Regions from separate parts of the Homo sapiens genome. Here all the other regions are linked to region 1. The links are contacts of gene promoters, found by promoter capture Hi-C in human tissues and cell types (Jung and others, 2019). All regions are on one chromosome and are shown on one strand. The core of a region is centred on a gene start or on the middle of the fragment in contact, and the rest is flanking DNA. Distances in the headings are between cores, read along the strand shown.

What was found. Contacts are between HindIII fragments. The study calls those that stand out against the background at their distance.
Region 2: a fragment that was not itself captured here is called in contact with the fragment with the promoter of RPL13 in region 1 in 2 of the 25 tissues and cell types used here (hippocampus and stomach).
Region 3: a fragment that was not itself captured here is called in contact with the fragment with the promoter of RPL13 in region 1 in 6 of the 25 tissues and cell types used here (bladder, dorsolateral prefrontal cortex, hippocampus and 3 more).

What each region holds. Positions count from the first base shown.
Region 1 is chr16:89,557,601-89,561,931 of GRCh38, forward strand. RPL13 (ribosomal protein L13) reads left to right here and starts at 3,082. Exons shown (of 6, transcript NM_000977.4): 1 at 3,082-3,112; 2 at 3,340-3,463; 3 at 3,627-3,768; 4 at 3,978-4,151. The coding sequence starts at 3,360. It overlaps SNORD68 (small nucleolar RNA, C/D box 68), which reads left to right and starts at 3,830; the gene lies at 3,830-3,901. It overlaps SPG7 (SPG7 matrix AAA peptidase subunit, paraplegin), which reads left to right. Exons shown (of 17, transcript NM_003119.4): 17 at 1-166. RefSeq lists silencers at 1,524-1,743, 3,285-3,554, 3,615-3,664 and an enhancer at 3,065-3,174. The HindIII fragment of the contact is 11,945 bases long and covers 1-4,331 here.
Region 2 is chr16:89,460,819-89,465,693 of GRCh38, forward strand. All of the region lies in intron 1 of ANKRD11 (ankyrin repeat domain containing 11), which reads right to left. Among named protein-coding and RNA genes, the nearest start is that of ANKRD11, 27 kb to the right of the region's middle. RefSeq lists an enhancer at 1,957-2,945. The HindIII fragment of the contact is 3,625 bases long and covers 668-4,292 here.
Region 3 is chr16:89,436,750-89,441,554 of GRCh38, forward strand. All of the region lies in intron 1 of ANKRD11 (ankyrin repeat domain containing 11), which reads right to left. All of the region lies in intron 1 of LOC101927817 (a long non-coding RNA gene), which reads left to right. Among named protein-coding and RNA genes, the nearest start is that of ANKRD11, 51 kb to the right of the region's middle. The HindIII fragment of the contact is 5,376 bases long and covers 729-4,805 here.

The DNA.
Region 1 (4,331 bases), core at 1,832-4,331:
GGGCTCCGGAGGACTCACCACTGCCCCCTGCTGCCATGTGGACTGGTGCAAGTTGAGGACTTCTTGCTGGTCTAGTCACGCATGCAGTGTTGGGGATGCCTTGGTTTTTACTGCTCTGAGAATTGTTGAGATACTTTACTAATAAACTGTGTAGTTGGAAAATCTACATTTGCATTGTCTGGCCAGCTCTAATGCAGAGGAGCTGGTGGGCTTGCCCTGGATCACAGGGTCTTGTGGTTTCAGTTTATAATTTGAGTAATGCAGGGACTAAGTGAAAAACTCCTTCTGTAGGAATCTGGGGCCTGGACCCCGTAGGGATAGAAGACGACCCAGGACACCCTGGCCCTGAGTTCCGGGGCATGCGGCTCCCACTCCGGCCCCCTTGCTTCTGCCCTCCCTGTGGTGCAGTGACGTGAGTGGATTGTCCTCTTGTTGCTGCAACACTGAAACGCTGGCGGAGCAGTAAGGAGGCAGCCACAGGTGCAGTCACACACCCGAGGGTGGCATCTCTGAGAGATGCCTTGACCTTTGCCCCAGTTCTCCAAATCCAAAGACCAGCACATCGATGGGAGGGTTTTAGCTGGTGTAGCCAAGGGTAGTGTCCTCGGTAATTGTTTTTTTTTTGCTGTTGTGTTGGTTTTTGGCAGAGTCTTGCTCTGTCGCCCAGGCTAGAGTGCAGTGGCGCCATCTCGGCTCACTGCAGCCTCGATCTTCTGGGCTCAAGCAATCCTCCTGACTCAGCCTCCCAAGTAGCTGGGACCGCAGGCACGCACCATTATGCCCGACTAATTTTTGTACTTTTTGTAGAGACAGGGCTAGACTCGAATTTCTGAGTTCAAGTGATCCTCCTGCCTTGGCCTCCCAATGTGTTGGGATTACAGGTGTGAGCCACTGTGCCAAGCCTTTTGTGAAATTAATTTATTATTTTTTAATTATTATTTGTTTTTGGAGATGGAATCTTGCTCTGTAGTCCAGGCTGGAGTGCAGTGGCACGATCTTGGGTCAGTGCAACCTCCGCCTCCCGGGTTCACGCCATTCTCCTGCCTCAGCCTCCCAAGTAGGTGGGACCACAGGCGCCTGCCACCACGCCCGGCTAATTTTTTGTATTTTTAGTAGAGTCGGGGTTTCACCATGTTAGCCAGGATGGTCTCGATCTCCTGACCTCGTGATCTGCCTGCCTTGGGCTCCCAAAATGCTGGGATTACAGGTGTGAGCCAGCACGCCCAGCTCTTAAATTTTTCATTTTTGAGACGGAGGCTTAACTCTGTCACCCAGGCTGGAGTGCAGTGGTGCAGTCTCGACTCACTGTAACCTCTGCCTCCTGGGTTCAAGTGATTCCCCTGTCCTACTCTCTGGAGTAGCTAGGATTACAGGTGTACACAACCACACATGGCTAATTTTTGTATTTTTAGTAGAGGCGGGATTTTGCCATGTTGGCTAGGCCGGTCTCCAACTCCTGACCTCAGGTGATCCACCCGCCTCGGCCTCCCAAAGTGCTGGGATTTACAGGCATGAGCCACCGTGCCTGGCCTGTGAAATACTTTTTTTTCTTTTTGAGACTGAGTCTTGCTCTGTTGCCCAGGCTAGAGTGCAGTAATGTGATCTTGGCTCACTGCAACCTCTGCCTCCCCAGTTCAAGCAATTCTGGTGACTCAGCCTCCTAAGTAGCTAGGATTACAGGCATGCGCCACCACGCCCAGCTTTTTTGTATTTTTAGTAGAGACAGGGTTTCACCATCTTAGCCAGGGTGATCTCAAACTCTTGACCTCGGCTGATCCGCCCACCTCAGCCTCCCAAAGTGCTGGAACTGTGAAATTCTTAAAATGTGGATTACGTTGGCCAGGCACGGTGGCTCACGCCTGTAATCCCAGCACTTTGGGAGGCCCAGGCGGGCGGATCGCGAGGTCAGGAGATCGAGACCATCCTGGCTAACACAGTGAAACCCCGTCTGTACTAAAAATACAAAAAATCAGCTGGGCGTGATGGTGGGCGCCTGTAGTCCCAGCTACTTGGGAGGCAGAGGCAGGAGAATGGCGTGAACCCGGGAGGCAGAACTTGCAGTGAACAGAGATCGCACCACTGAACTCCAGCCTGGGCAACAGAGGGAGACTCCGTCTCAAAAAAAAAAAATAATAATAAGTTTTACCAGGAGGAAGCGTGGTGATTGGGTGAGGGTAGGGAAGAAAGAGGGTTATTGGGATTTAAAGGTTTCCAGGTAGCAGTAAGATGGATGGTGCCTTCACAGACTTATACTAGAGAAGAGATGGCTTTTTGTTGATGCTTTTCTTTGTGAAGGAAGGCAGTAGGCACAGCAGGTCAGAGTGTGACATTTTCAGTCGGGTACCCCTGACCTTAGAGAAGTCACCTAATCCTGGGCCAAGGGAAAGCGACAGAGGCCAACAGTAACTCCGTCTACTAAAATACCAAAAATTAGCAGGGTGTGGCGGCGGGCGCCTGTAATCCCAGCTACTCGGGAGGCTGAGGCAGAATTGCTTGAACCTGGGACGCGGAGGCTGCAGTGAGCCGAGATCGCGCCATTGCACTCCAGCCTGGGCGACGGAGCGAGACTCCGTCTCCAAAAAAAAAAAACAAAAAAAAAAACCACAAATGTTCTAAATGGATGGGAGGAGAATAAACGCTGGAACGACAAGGACGAAGGCCTTAGGTTGCGCAAACTCGGATGTCACTGAAGTTTTTCTGCCTTTGCGCTGCAAACGTGTCTCACAAATGTGAACAAACAGAATTCCTCGGGCGTCGCCCGTTCGCCGTCGGCCCAGATACCGGACTCGCGCGCGTTAGCCCGCAAGACAGGACTCGGCCGCGGCCCGCGCAGCGGCTGAAGCGCCGGGGCAGTAACGGCGGACGTCAAGCAAGTCCGGCCGTCGGTTACTCAGGGCCCAGGAATCACGGCCGCCCCGCCGCATTCTCAGCGGCAACATGTCTGCGACGGCGGCCCTAGGGCTGCCGGGAGAGCCGCGGCGACGTCAGTTCCTCCTTTCGGGGCTCTGATTGGTCAGAGCGCCCGGCGCTTCTGGTTGGCCGGCCCTGCTATCATCCCAGAGTGCATTGCGGGGCCGCTTCCTTTCCGCTCGGCTGTTTTCCTGCGCAGGAGGTGAGGGAGACTGGGTCCTGGCCTTTGGGCATCATCCAGCGCCATCGGCCTGGCGCTTCAGCCAACGCGGGAGTGGATGGGCCCCTTCTTCTTCGCAGACAGCGTTCGGCCGCTGCCCGGGCTCTAGGCGCGGCCGGACGGCCCAGTCTGGAGGGTTCGGGGCGGAGGCCCGGGGGGGTGCGCGCGCCCGGGGTCCGGCCTCTCACTCGCTCCCCTCTCGTCCGCAGCCGCAGGGCCGTAGGCAGCCATGGCGCCCAGCCGGAATGGCATGGTCTTGAAGCCCCACTTCCACAAGGACTGGCAGCGGCGCGTGGCCACGTGGTTCAACCAGCCGGCCCGTAAGATCCGCAGGTGAGCCCTGCGCTCGGGGCTGCCCCTGGGGCTCGTGCCCGCGGCTGCGCCTTGGCTTGCGGGTGGCCGATGCCAGGGCGGGGGGCGCTGTCTGCAACCGTCGCGGAGCGCTGGCCTGGCGGCCTTAGGCAAGGGTGACCGCCGCTGCGCTTCTCTCCACCAGACGTAAGGCCCGGCAAGCCAAGGCGCGCCGCATCGCCCCGCGCCCCGCGTCGGGTCCCATCCGGCCCATCGTGCGCTGCCCCACGGTTCGGTACCACACGAAGGTGCGCGCCGGCCGCGGCTTCAGCCTGGAGGAGCTCAGGGTGAGTACTGGCAGCGCTGCGGTGTCAGGAAGGCCCCGAAGTCCCCTCTGTTGGCCTCAGTCGCGTGATGACATTCTCCGGAATCGCTGTACGGCCTTGATGAAAGCACATTTGAACCCTTTTCCATCTGATTGCTGAGGCTTTTCATCCAGGCCTCGGGGCTGGAGAAAGCCCGGGCCTGTCTCCATCTCTCTCTGGTTCTGGGGCAGGTGGCCGGCATTCACAAGAAGGTGGCCCGGACCATCGGCATTTCTGTGGATCCGAGGAGGCGGAACAAGTCCACGGAGTCCCTGCAGGCCAACGTGCAGCGGCTGAAGGAGTACCGCTCCAAACTCATCCTCTTCCCCAGGAAGCCCTCGGCCCCCAAGAAGGGAGACAGTTCTGTGAGTACACGGCTCTCTGGCCGTCCTGGTGCGCGGGGACAGTGAGGCTTGGCTCCTTTATCAGTGACACCGGTCCCTGGGTCTTGCTGGGGTGAGAAGAACCAAAACATTGTGGGTGATGAGCTAAGCGGGACTGCTAAGGTTCACCTGTGCGTTTCCGCAGAGATAACCTTAATGGAC
Region 2 (4,875 bases), core at 1,230-3,729, 97 kb before region 1:
AATGAAGATTCTGACCCACAGGAACAAACTGATCCAAAAGGGAAATATGCCAGTCACGAAAGGACAAATATTGTATGACCCCCCACCCCTTACAGGAGAGGTGCCTTGGACAGTGACATTCATAAGAGAAGAAAGGACAAATATCGTATGACCCCCCCCCCCAACAGGAGACGCACCTTGAGTGGTGACATTCATAACAGAAGAAAGGACAAATATCGTATGACCACCCCCCCGCAGGAGACGCACCTTGAGTGGTGACATTCATAAGAGAAGAAAGGACAAATATCGTATGACCCCCTCCCATAGGAGACGCACCTTGAGTGGTGACATTCATAAGAGAAGAAAGGACAAATATCGTATGACCCCCCCCCCCCCCTTATAGGAGAGGTGCCTTGAGTGGTGACATTCATAAGAGAAAGCAGATTGGTGGTCAGGGGTTATGGGGAGAGTCGAGGTTATGGGGAGAGGGATGAAGAGTTAGTGTTAATGGGTAGCCGGTGTCGTCTGGGAAGACCAAGTTCTGGAGAGGGATGGTGGTGATGGCTTTGCACCGTGTGAATCTAATACCAGAGAACTGCACACTCAAAAATGGTACAAATGGTCAATTTTATACTGCTGGGCTCAGGGAATCCTTCCCCTCAGCCTCCTGAGGAGCTGGGACCACAGGCACCTGCCACCACGCCTGGCTAACTTTTGTATTTTTTGTAGAAACAGGGTATCTTCATTTGCCCAGGCTGGTCTCAAACGCCTGTGCTCACGTTATCTGCTTCCCTCGGCCTCCGAAAGTGCTGAGACTACAGGCGTGAGCCACCACACCCCACTTAATAATTCCATTTTAATACCGATTTACTAAACAAGGAAAAGCTCATAGAATTACTAACTATGCCATCTTATTTAGGCTACCTAAATTCTCTGAACTTCATCTTCTAAATAAATAAGAAGAAATGTATCTTTTAACACTAATAACTATGGTCATTCCCATTAAAACATTAAGTTTTGAAAACTAGGGTTCTCATTTAAGCCTGTCTCACAGCAGCTCAGCTCTCAGAATGTTCAGAAGACTCTGACACTGCCCTCTCCCCTCCTCTGGCACTCATTTTGGAAACCTGCAGAGCATCTATTGAAAAAGCCCATCCCAGCATCTTCTTAATCACTGGTATACTTCCGTCTGTCACGAGCTTCATTTAAAAAAAGCGTCACGCTCCCTCTCCCTCCCCCTCTCCCTCTCCCCCTCTCCCTCTCCCTCTCTCCCTCTCCCTCTCCCCATGGTCTCCCTCTCCCTCTCTTTCCACGGTCTCCCTCTCATGCTGAGTCGAAGCTGGACTGTACTGCTGCCATCTCGGCTCACTGCAACCCCCCTGCCTGATTCTCCTGACTCAGCCTGCCGAGTGCCTGCGATTGCAGGCTCACGCCGCCACGCCTGACTGGTTTTGGTGGAGACGGGGTTTCGCTGTGTTGGCCAGGCCGGTCTCCAGCCCCTAACCGCAAGTGATCCGCCAGCCTCGGCCTCCCGAGGTGCCGGGATTGCAGACGGAGTCTCGTTCACTCAGTGCTCAATGGTGCCCAGGCTGGAGTGCAGTGGCATGATCTCGGCTCGCTACAACCTCCACCTCCCAGCCGCCTGCCTTGGCCTCCCAAAGTGCCGAGACTGCAACCTCTGCCCGGCCGCCACCCCGTCTGGGAAGTGAGGAGCGTCTCTGCCTGGCCGCCCATCATCTGGGATGTGAGGAGCCCCTCTGCCTGGCTGCCCAGTCTGGAAAGTGAGGAGCGTCTCCGCCCAGCCGCCATCCCACTTAGGAAGTGAGGAGCACCTCTTCCCGGCCGCCATCACATCTAGGAAGTGAGGAGCGTCTCTGCCCGGCCGCCCATCGTCTGAGATGTGGGGAGCGCCTCTGCCCCGCCGCCCCGTCTGGGATGTGAGGAGCACCTCTGCCCGGCCACCCCGTCTGACAAGTGAGAAGACCCTCTGCCCGGCAACCACCCCGTCTGAGAAGTGAGGAGCCCCTCCGCCCGGCAGCCACCCCGTCTGGGAAGTGAGGAGCGTCTCCGCCCAGCAGCCGCCCCATCCGGGAGGGAGGTGAGGGGGTCAGCCCCCCGCCCAGCTGCCCCGTCCGGGAGGGAGGTGGAGGTGGGGGGGGTCAGCCCCCCCGCCAGGCCAGCCGCCCCGTCCGGGAGGGAGGTGGGGGGGTCAGCCCCCCGCCAGGCCAGCCGCCCCATCCGGGAGGGAGGTGGGGGGGTCAGCCCCCCCGCCCGGCCAGCCGCCCCGCCCGGGAGGTGAGGGGCGCCTCTGCCCGGCCGCCCCTACTGGGAAGTGAGGAGCCCCTCTGCCCGGCCACCACCCCGTCTGGGAGGTGTGCCCAACAGCTCATTGAGAACGGGCCATGATGACAGTGGCGGTTTTGTGGAATAGAAAGCGGGGAAAGGTGGGGAAAAGATTGAGAAATCGGATGGTTGCCGTGTCTGTGTAGAAAGAAGTAGACATGGGAGACTTTTCATTTTGTTCTGTACTAAGAAAACTTCTGCCTTGGGATCCTGTTGATCTGTGACCTTGCCCCCAACCCTGTGCTCTCTGAAACATGTGCTGTGTCCACTCAGGGTTAAATGGATTAAGGGCGGTGCAAGATGTGCTTTGTTAAACAGACGGTTGAAGGCAGCATACTCGTTAAGAGTCATCACCACTCCCTAATCTCAAGTACCCAGGGACACAAACACTGCGGAAGGCCGCAGGGTCCTCTGCCTAGGAAAACCAGAGACCTTTGTTCACTTGTTTATTTGCTGACCTTCCCTCCACTATTGTCCTATGACCCTGCCAAATCCCCCTCTATGAGAAACACCCAAGAATTATCAATAAAAAATAAATAAATTAAAAAAAAAAAAAGCCTCACACTGGATAAGTGTTTTTCAATAATTTCAACGTAGTATTCCACAGCAAATTGTCTAGTTCACATTTAATTCAAAATTAATTCCCTACGTTACCACACAAGCAATAGACTGTTAAGTTTAATGCTCCCATGGCTTTCTACTTATGCAAAAAATTAACTTCTTCAAAACACCTATGGTGGAAGTTCTTCCTGTTCAGACTGCAATTCTATTTACAAAAAACAATAGTACTGTAGTACTATTAGACCACAACGCTAACGCCAGGCACAGTGGTTCACACCTGTAATCCCAACATTTTGGGAGGGTGAGGTGGGCGGATCACTTGAGGTCAGGAGTTAAAGACCAGCCTGGCCAACATGGTGAAACCCCGTCTCTACTAAAAATACAAAAATTAATCAGGCATGGTGGCGGGCGCCTGTAGTCCCAGCTACTCGGGAGGCTGAGACACGAGAATCACTTGAACCTGGGAGGTGGAGGCTGTAGCGAGCGAAGATCGCACCACTGCACTCCAGCCTGGGTGACAGAACGAGACTCCATCTCAAAAGAAAAAAAAAGATCACAATGGTGGAATCTAACCCTCTTATCTAAAATTTCTTAAAGTAACAAACATTTTGAAAAGAATAAATCTGGCAGAGCGTGGTGGCTCACGCCTGTAATCCCAGCACTTTGGGAGGCCGAGGCAGGCAGATCACGAGGTCAGGAGTTCAAGACCAGCCAGGCCAACATGGTGAAACCTCATCTCTACTAAAAATACAAAAAATTAGCTGGGCGTGGGGTCAGACACCTGTAATCCCAGCTACTCAGGAGGCTGAGGCACGAGAATCGCTTGAACCTGGGAGGTGGAGGCTGTAGTGAGCCAAGATCGCAACACTGCACTCCAGCCTGGGCGACAGAGTGAGACTCCATCTTAAAAAAAAAAAAAAAAGAAAAGAAAAGAAAAAGAAAAAAAGAAAAGAATAAATCTGTAACAGCACTGGAAAACAGAAGAATGACATGTCAATAGTTGACCAGAATTAAGCACCTAAATTAACAGAAAGTAAATGAAATCAGACAAATAACTTAAGTTTAGAGAAAACAGAGACCAAACTCTACAGAAGGAAGAAGCCGCAGAGATCAAACTCTACAGAAAGTCAGGACCACTGCAGAGGAAAAGCAAGCTTCAAGGATGAAAAACCAATAAAGCTACACAGTTCCAAGTTCATCTACTATGATTACTATGATGGGGAAACCACCTGGGGGTCAGGGGCCGAATCTGGCCCAATGTCTTTTTTAGACAGTCCACAGGCTAAGAATGAGGTTTATATTTATACCTGGTTGAAAAAGAAAATAACATTTTGTGGTAAGTGAAAATTATATGAAATTCTAATTTCAGTGTTAGTAATAGTTGTAACTGGAAAACAGCCAGGCTCGTTTTAAGTGTGGCCCCGGTTCCTTCCATGATACAACAGCAGAGCTGAAGAGCTGTCAGAGAACATGCGGCCACAAGGTCTAACTGGCCCTTGACAGAAAAACTGAGATGGAGTTAAAAAGACAAGTCTGCATATTAAAAGAGCTTCAAGATGCTAACCAATATAAAAAAGTCACAATCTAAACCCTAAAAATAGCAAAATGTCAGACTCCCACATATCAACAGAAAATCCTACAAGTTTCCACAAAATCCTAAAAAGCTTAACTAAAAAAGAATCATGAATTAGACTGGCGTTGGACTTCTCTCATCTTTACAGCAGAGGCCACGACAGAGAACAGGGGCAGCACACTCTTGCCGTGAAGAGCAGACAGTCCATCGAGGCCTTTCTGTGCCACACCGCCCGCCCGCACACATCCGCGGAAAGCCTGCTTTCAGCTGCTCAGCAGGTGGGAACACTTGCTCCTCCAGCATTCCACCATGAGACAAAGGAAAAAGTCGCTTCTGTGTGTCCACCAGCACACGACTCCCATGTACTCCTGCACGTCACGTGGACGAGCTAAAGAAGACTCCTCTGCTCCACAGCCACC
Region 3 (4,805 bases), core at 2,167-4,666, 120 kb before region 1:
TTTTTGTTTTAATAAAGTTATTCTAATCCCCTGAGGTAACTGTGAGGGAATTAATAACTAGAGAACTGTTAGAGACCCCTGAAGGTTGGACAATGGTATTGCCGAAGCTTTGTGTTTTGCTCTTCAATAAACTTATCTACTTTCTTAAGCTAACTGAATAAAATTTAATATACATTTATCAACCACATCTTTTAAAAAGAGAGAAAAGTAGGAAACTCAAAGTAGTTTCCTTTAAACAAAAGATGGTCAAAGTTGATGAATTTAGAACATTTGTCCCCAATATCCTAAAAAGTGACATACGAGGAAGGAGATGTCACAGAAGAAAACGACAACACACACCCAAACGGCATCAGCCTGTGTGTGACCATTTTCACAACAGGGAAGGGAACGAAGCGAACAGATCCATCACTGAAAGCGCAGCACACACCTTCTAACCTGGAAATGGAGAAGGAACGTCCACTTATGAAGAGGGCCAACAACAGTGGCCTCTCATTCCATGAACCAAGCATGATGCTAATATGCTAATATGACAGAGAATTTTTTAAAAAGCCACCAAAAAAATACCAAAAAGTGAAAGACTGTATTGTTTGCCCCAACATCTGTTTTCTTCACTCTAATGTTCCCAAACCAGTGCAGCAAACAGGCTGGCTCTTCCCGCCTCCCACTGACTCCTCCACACCCCTACTTCCTCTCTCCTCATTCACCTCTTCTTCTTTCTGCTCTTCTGTGCCTCCCACTCTCTCACTGAGCAGCCCCTCACTTCCCAGCATGCCACCATCTCCCCTGAGCAAACAGTCCTCCAGAGACAGTCCTCCAGAGCTCTCTCCAACCTGACATCTCTCCCAAGAGCCCACTCACCAGATGTCCAAGGGGTTTATGAAAGCCATGGATTCAAGGCTAGAGACGCTGTCCCTCAGACCAGCTCTCTCCGGCTCTTCCTGTCTGGTAGGGAGGCTGTGGTGCCCTGGCCACTCTCATTTCTCACTGGCCTCTGCACCTCCCATGCATCCGCTCCTCCGCCATGCCTCTCCACTACTCCTAATGCCACTCCCAGCTCCAGCAACCCACCCTCCAGGGCACCTCGACGCTATGCCCAGTTCAATCTCCTATGGGTCAGTGCAGGGCAATGCATAATGCAAACTAGGCCCGGGGGCTGTGGAGTTGGGCAGCCATGGTTAAAATCATTCTTAGTTTCCTCATCTGTAGAAAGAAAAATTCCTGGATACAAAATATAAGATGAATATACACAAGTCCATTGTATTTCTAGACACCAACACCAGGCAGAGTCCACCATGAAGGCAAGTGGCAGTGTCCCAAGGAGAGCCCGCTGGCCAGGAGGGCACCGCAAGCTTGGACACAGCAGGGGCACTGGAGATGGGTCCACGAACCGCGTGCGCAGCCCAGGAGGCTGGCACAACTGGTGTCTGCATGAAGACTAGGAACAGCTGGCTTCTTATCTCACACCATACACAAACATCAATTTAGGATACATTAAAGGTATAAATGCAAAGGGCAAAAGTACAAAATGTGCAGAAGGCGTAGGAAGCTATCTTTATGGCCTTGGGATAGGGAACATTTTTTTTTTTTCAACACAGAGTCTCACTCTGTTGCCCAGGCTGGAGTGCAGTGGTGCGATCTCAGCTCACTGCAGCCTCCGCCTCCTGGGTTCAAGCAATTCTCCTGTCTCACCCACCCGAGTAGCTGGGACTACTGGCGTGTGCTACCACATCCAGCTAATTTGTGTGTGTGTGTGCGTATTTTTAGTAGATACAGGGTTTCACTAGGTTGGGCCAGGCTGGTCTTGAACTTATGACTTCAGGTGATCCACCCACCTGGGCCTCCCAAAGTGCTGGGATTACAGGTATGAGCCACCGTGCCCATCCAAGAAAATTTTCTAAAAAAAGACATACTGGGTCATGATGGACAGTTTGGAAGGCATTGCCCCCAAGAACCAAGCACAGTCCCTTCGAAGCTAAAGTATTCAAATCTCAAGTCATCAAATGTTACTGCATTTAGGAGGCCGAGGTGGGAGGACTGCTTGATCCCAGAAGTTCAAGGCCAACCAGAGCAACATGTGAGACCGCATCTCTATAAAAAATTTTAAAATAAACTAGCCAGGTGTGGGGTTGCATGCCTGTGATCCCAGCTGCTGGAGAGGCTGAGATGGGAGACTGCTTGAGCCAATGAGTTCGTGATCATACCACTGCACTCCAGCCTGAACGACAGAGCAAGACCCTGCCTCAAACAAAAACAGAAACAAAAACAAACAAAAATTTTAACCTTTCTCTTAAAAAAAACAAAACCAAAAAAAAAAAAGAACTGTATTCTTCCATTCATATAGAAGATAAACATCACAATGGGAAACTCCCTCTGTGTGGCACGTTGTTCAAATCCACATGCATGCACAGTCCCAGAGTCTTCTTTCCTACCCGCAGCACTGAAGGTTCAAGGAAGTCCCACTGTTTTCAGTAAACTGAAAACTTTTTTGGAAAATGCTGTTTTCCAGTATAGACAACTGAATCCTAAGCACAAATATATAGGACCTCTGAATATGTAAAAATTTAAAAGCAGACAACACTAAATTAATGATTTTACTTTTAAGGAGATAAAATGTTCCTTGACTTGCAATGGGGTTACCTCCCAATAAACCCAGTGTAAAGTCAAAAATCCTAAGTCGAACCATCATTAAGTCAGGGACTATCTGTATACACTTTCAGTGCTAAAAACTACACCAAAGAAAAAACAAGTGTCAAAGTTCTCCATGTAAAACAGTGATCCAGGGATATGGGTGAGAAAACCCATCTAAAATGCAATGTGATATTTAGGATAAAGCTGAAACACACCACAGCGCCTCAGCAATTGAGGCTGTGAATACAACCACACAATCAGCAAAGAAAAGCTTGTTCTATTCTTCATCTACACCACTCACACACAACACCAAAGGTGTTCTCAGCACACCTCCATCCACCTCAGATCTATTCTTCATCTACACCACTGACACACAACACCAAAGGTGTTCTCAACACAACTCCGTCCCCCTCAGAACTCTGTGGAACGTTTTCATTCCCAATGATCACCAACAGAGCCAGCTGTAAGCTCAACTCTAACACTACCCACAGTGCAGCTGACCTAGACTGATGGGCGGCCTCCGGAGAAGTCAAAGACTCCAGCTCTACTGCACACACCCACAGCAGGAGAGGCCTGTGTCTCTCACAGGTGTGGGGTCTGAGCCGCAGCCCACTACCTTAACTCCATAATCTGTGACTTGGCTCTTATGAGGAAGCTGACAAAGAATCAGAGACTCAGAGGAGATCACAGCCTTTCAGGACTGAGGTCTAAAACACAGAACCTCTAGCCCAGTGCTCACCCGCAACCATTTCCCTGCCTCTTCCTACTTCTCCAGTCCTCAAGGGGACAATGGCAGGGTTCACAGGATTCTTCCTCCGGAAGAATTCAGTGTGCTGTAATTAGAAATGAACATTTTATCAATATGTTCACGTAAAATGTACATGTTCCCCTGGGGGGAGGGATAAATAACAGTGGAACTAGGAAAAGCAGACCACCAGAAAATGTCTCGGTCCAGCGTGGTGGCTCAGGCCTGTAATCCCAGAACTCTGGAAGGCTGAGGGGGGAGGATCACATGAGGCCAGAAGTTCAGACCAGCCTGAGCAACACACTGAAACCTCAACTTTGTAACAATAAAAACAGAATAAAAACTTAGCTGGGCATGGAGGTGTGCACCTGTAGTCCCAGGCACTCAGGAGGCTGAGGTGGGAGAATTGCTTGAGACCAGGAGGTCAACACTACAGTGAGCTGTGAGTACCAATGCACTCCAACCTGGATGACACGACAAAACTCTGTCTCAAAAGGAGGGGGAGGAGGAGGTAAGAGGGAAAGGAAGAAAGCATAAGAAAATATCAAGCACAAACTAAGGGCCCCAAAAAATCCAACTCACAGCAACGTGGGCAGAGCCCTGGAGAAGCCAGAGGACATCCAGGCACCACCCAGCAAGGGGCTACAGAAAGGGGGCCACCTGCCTCCAAGCCTGCCGGGACTGAAAATAAATCCATGTGGCATCAACAGGAACATCTGTGGCTGTGTGGCAATGCGTGTGAGTGCGCATGAATCCTGGTGTGGCTGGTGTGTGTCACAGTCAAAACGGAAAGAGAGAGCGCATCGTGGTTTATAAAAAATAAGTTTCCTTGCGGCCAGACACAGTGGCTCACGCCTGTAATCCCAGCACTTTGGGAGGCCGAGGCGGGCAGATCATGAGGTCAGGAGATCGAGACCATCCTGGCTAACACCGTGAAACCCTGTCTCTACTAAAAATACAAAAATTAGCCGGGCGTGGTGGTGGGCGCCTGTAGTCCCAGCTACTCGGGAGGCTGAGGCAGGAAAATGGCGTGAACCTGAGAGGCAGAGATCGCAGTGAGCCAGGATCGAGCCACTGCACTCCAGCCTGGGCCACAAAGTGAGACTCCGTCTCAAAAAAAAAAAAGTTTCCTCGCTATGCATGCGCTAAAACCCTCTGGAGTGAAGTCCTAAAATATTTAAATGAATTTTCATTCTGAAGAGACTACAGAACTTCTCAACACAGGCTCTCTTACACAGACTCTATTACACAGACTTTTTTAAGATCTTGCACATCCAATGTCAGAATATATTCCATCACCCAGCAACAAAAGCAGTCAGGAAAAAAACTTCAGAAAAAGAATTATTAAAAAATACGCAAACCTGGCCGGGCGCGGTGGCTCACGCCTGTAATCCCAGCACTTTGGGAGGCCAAGGCGGGCGGATCACGAGGT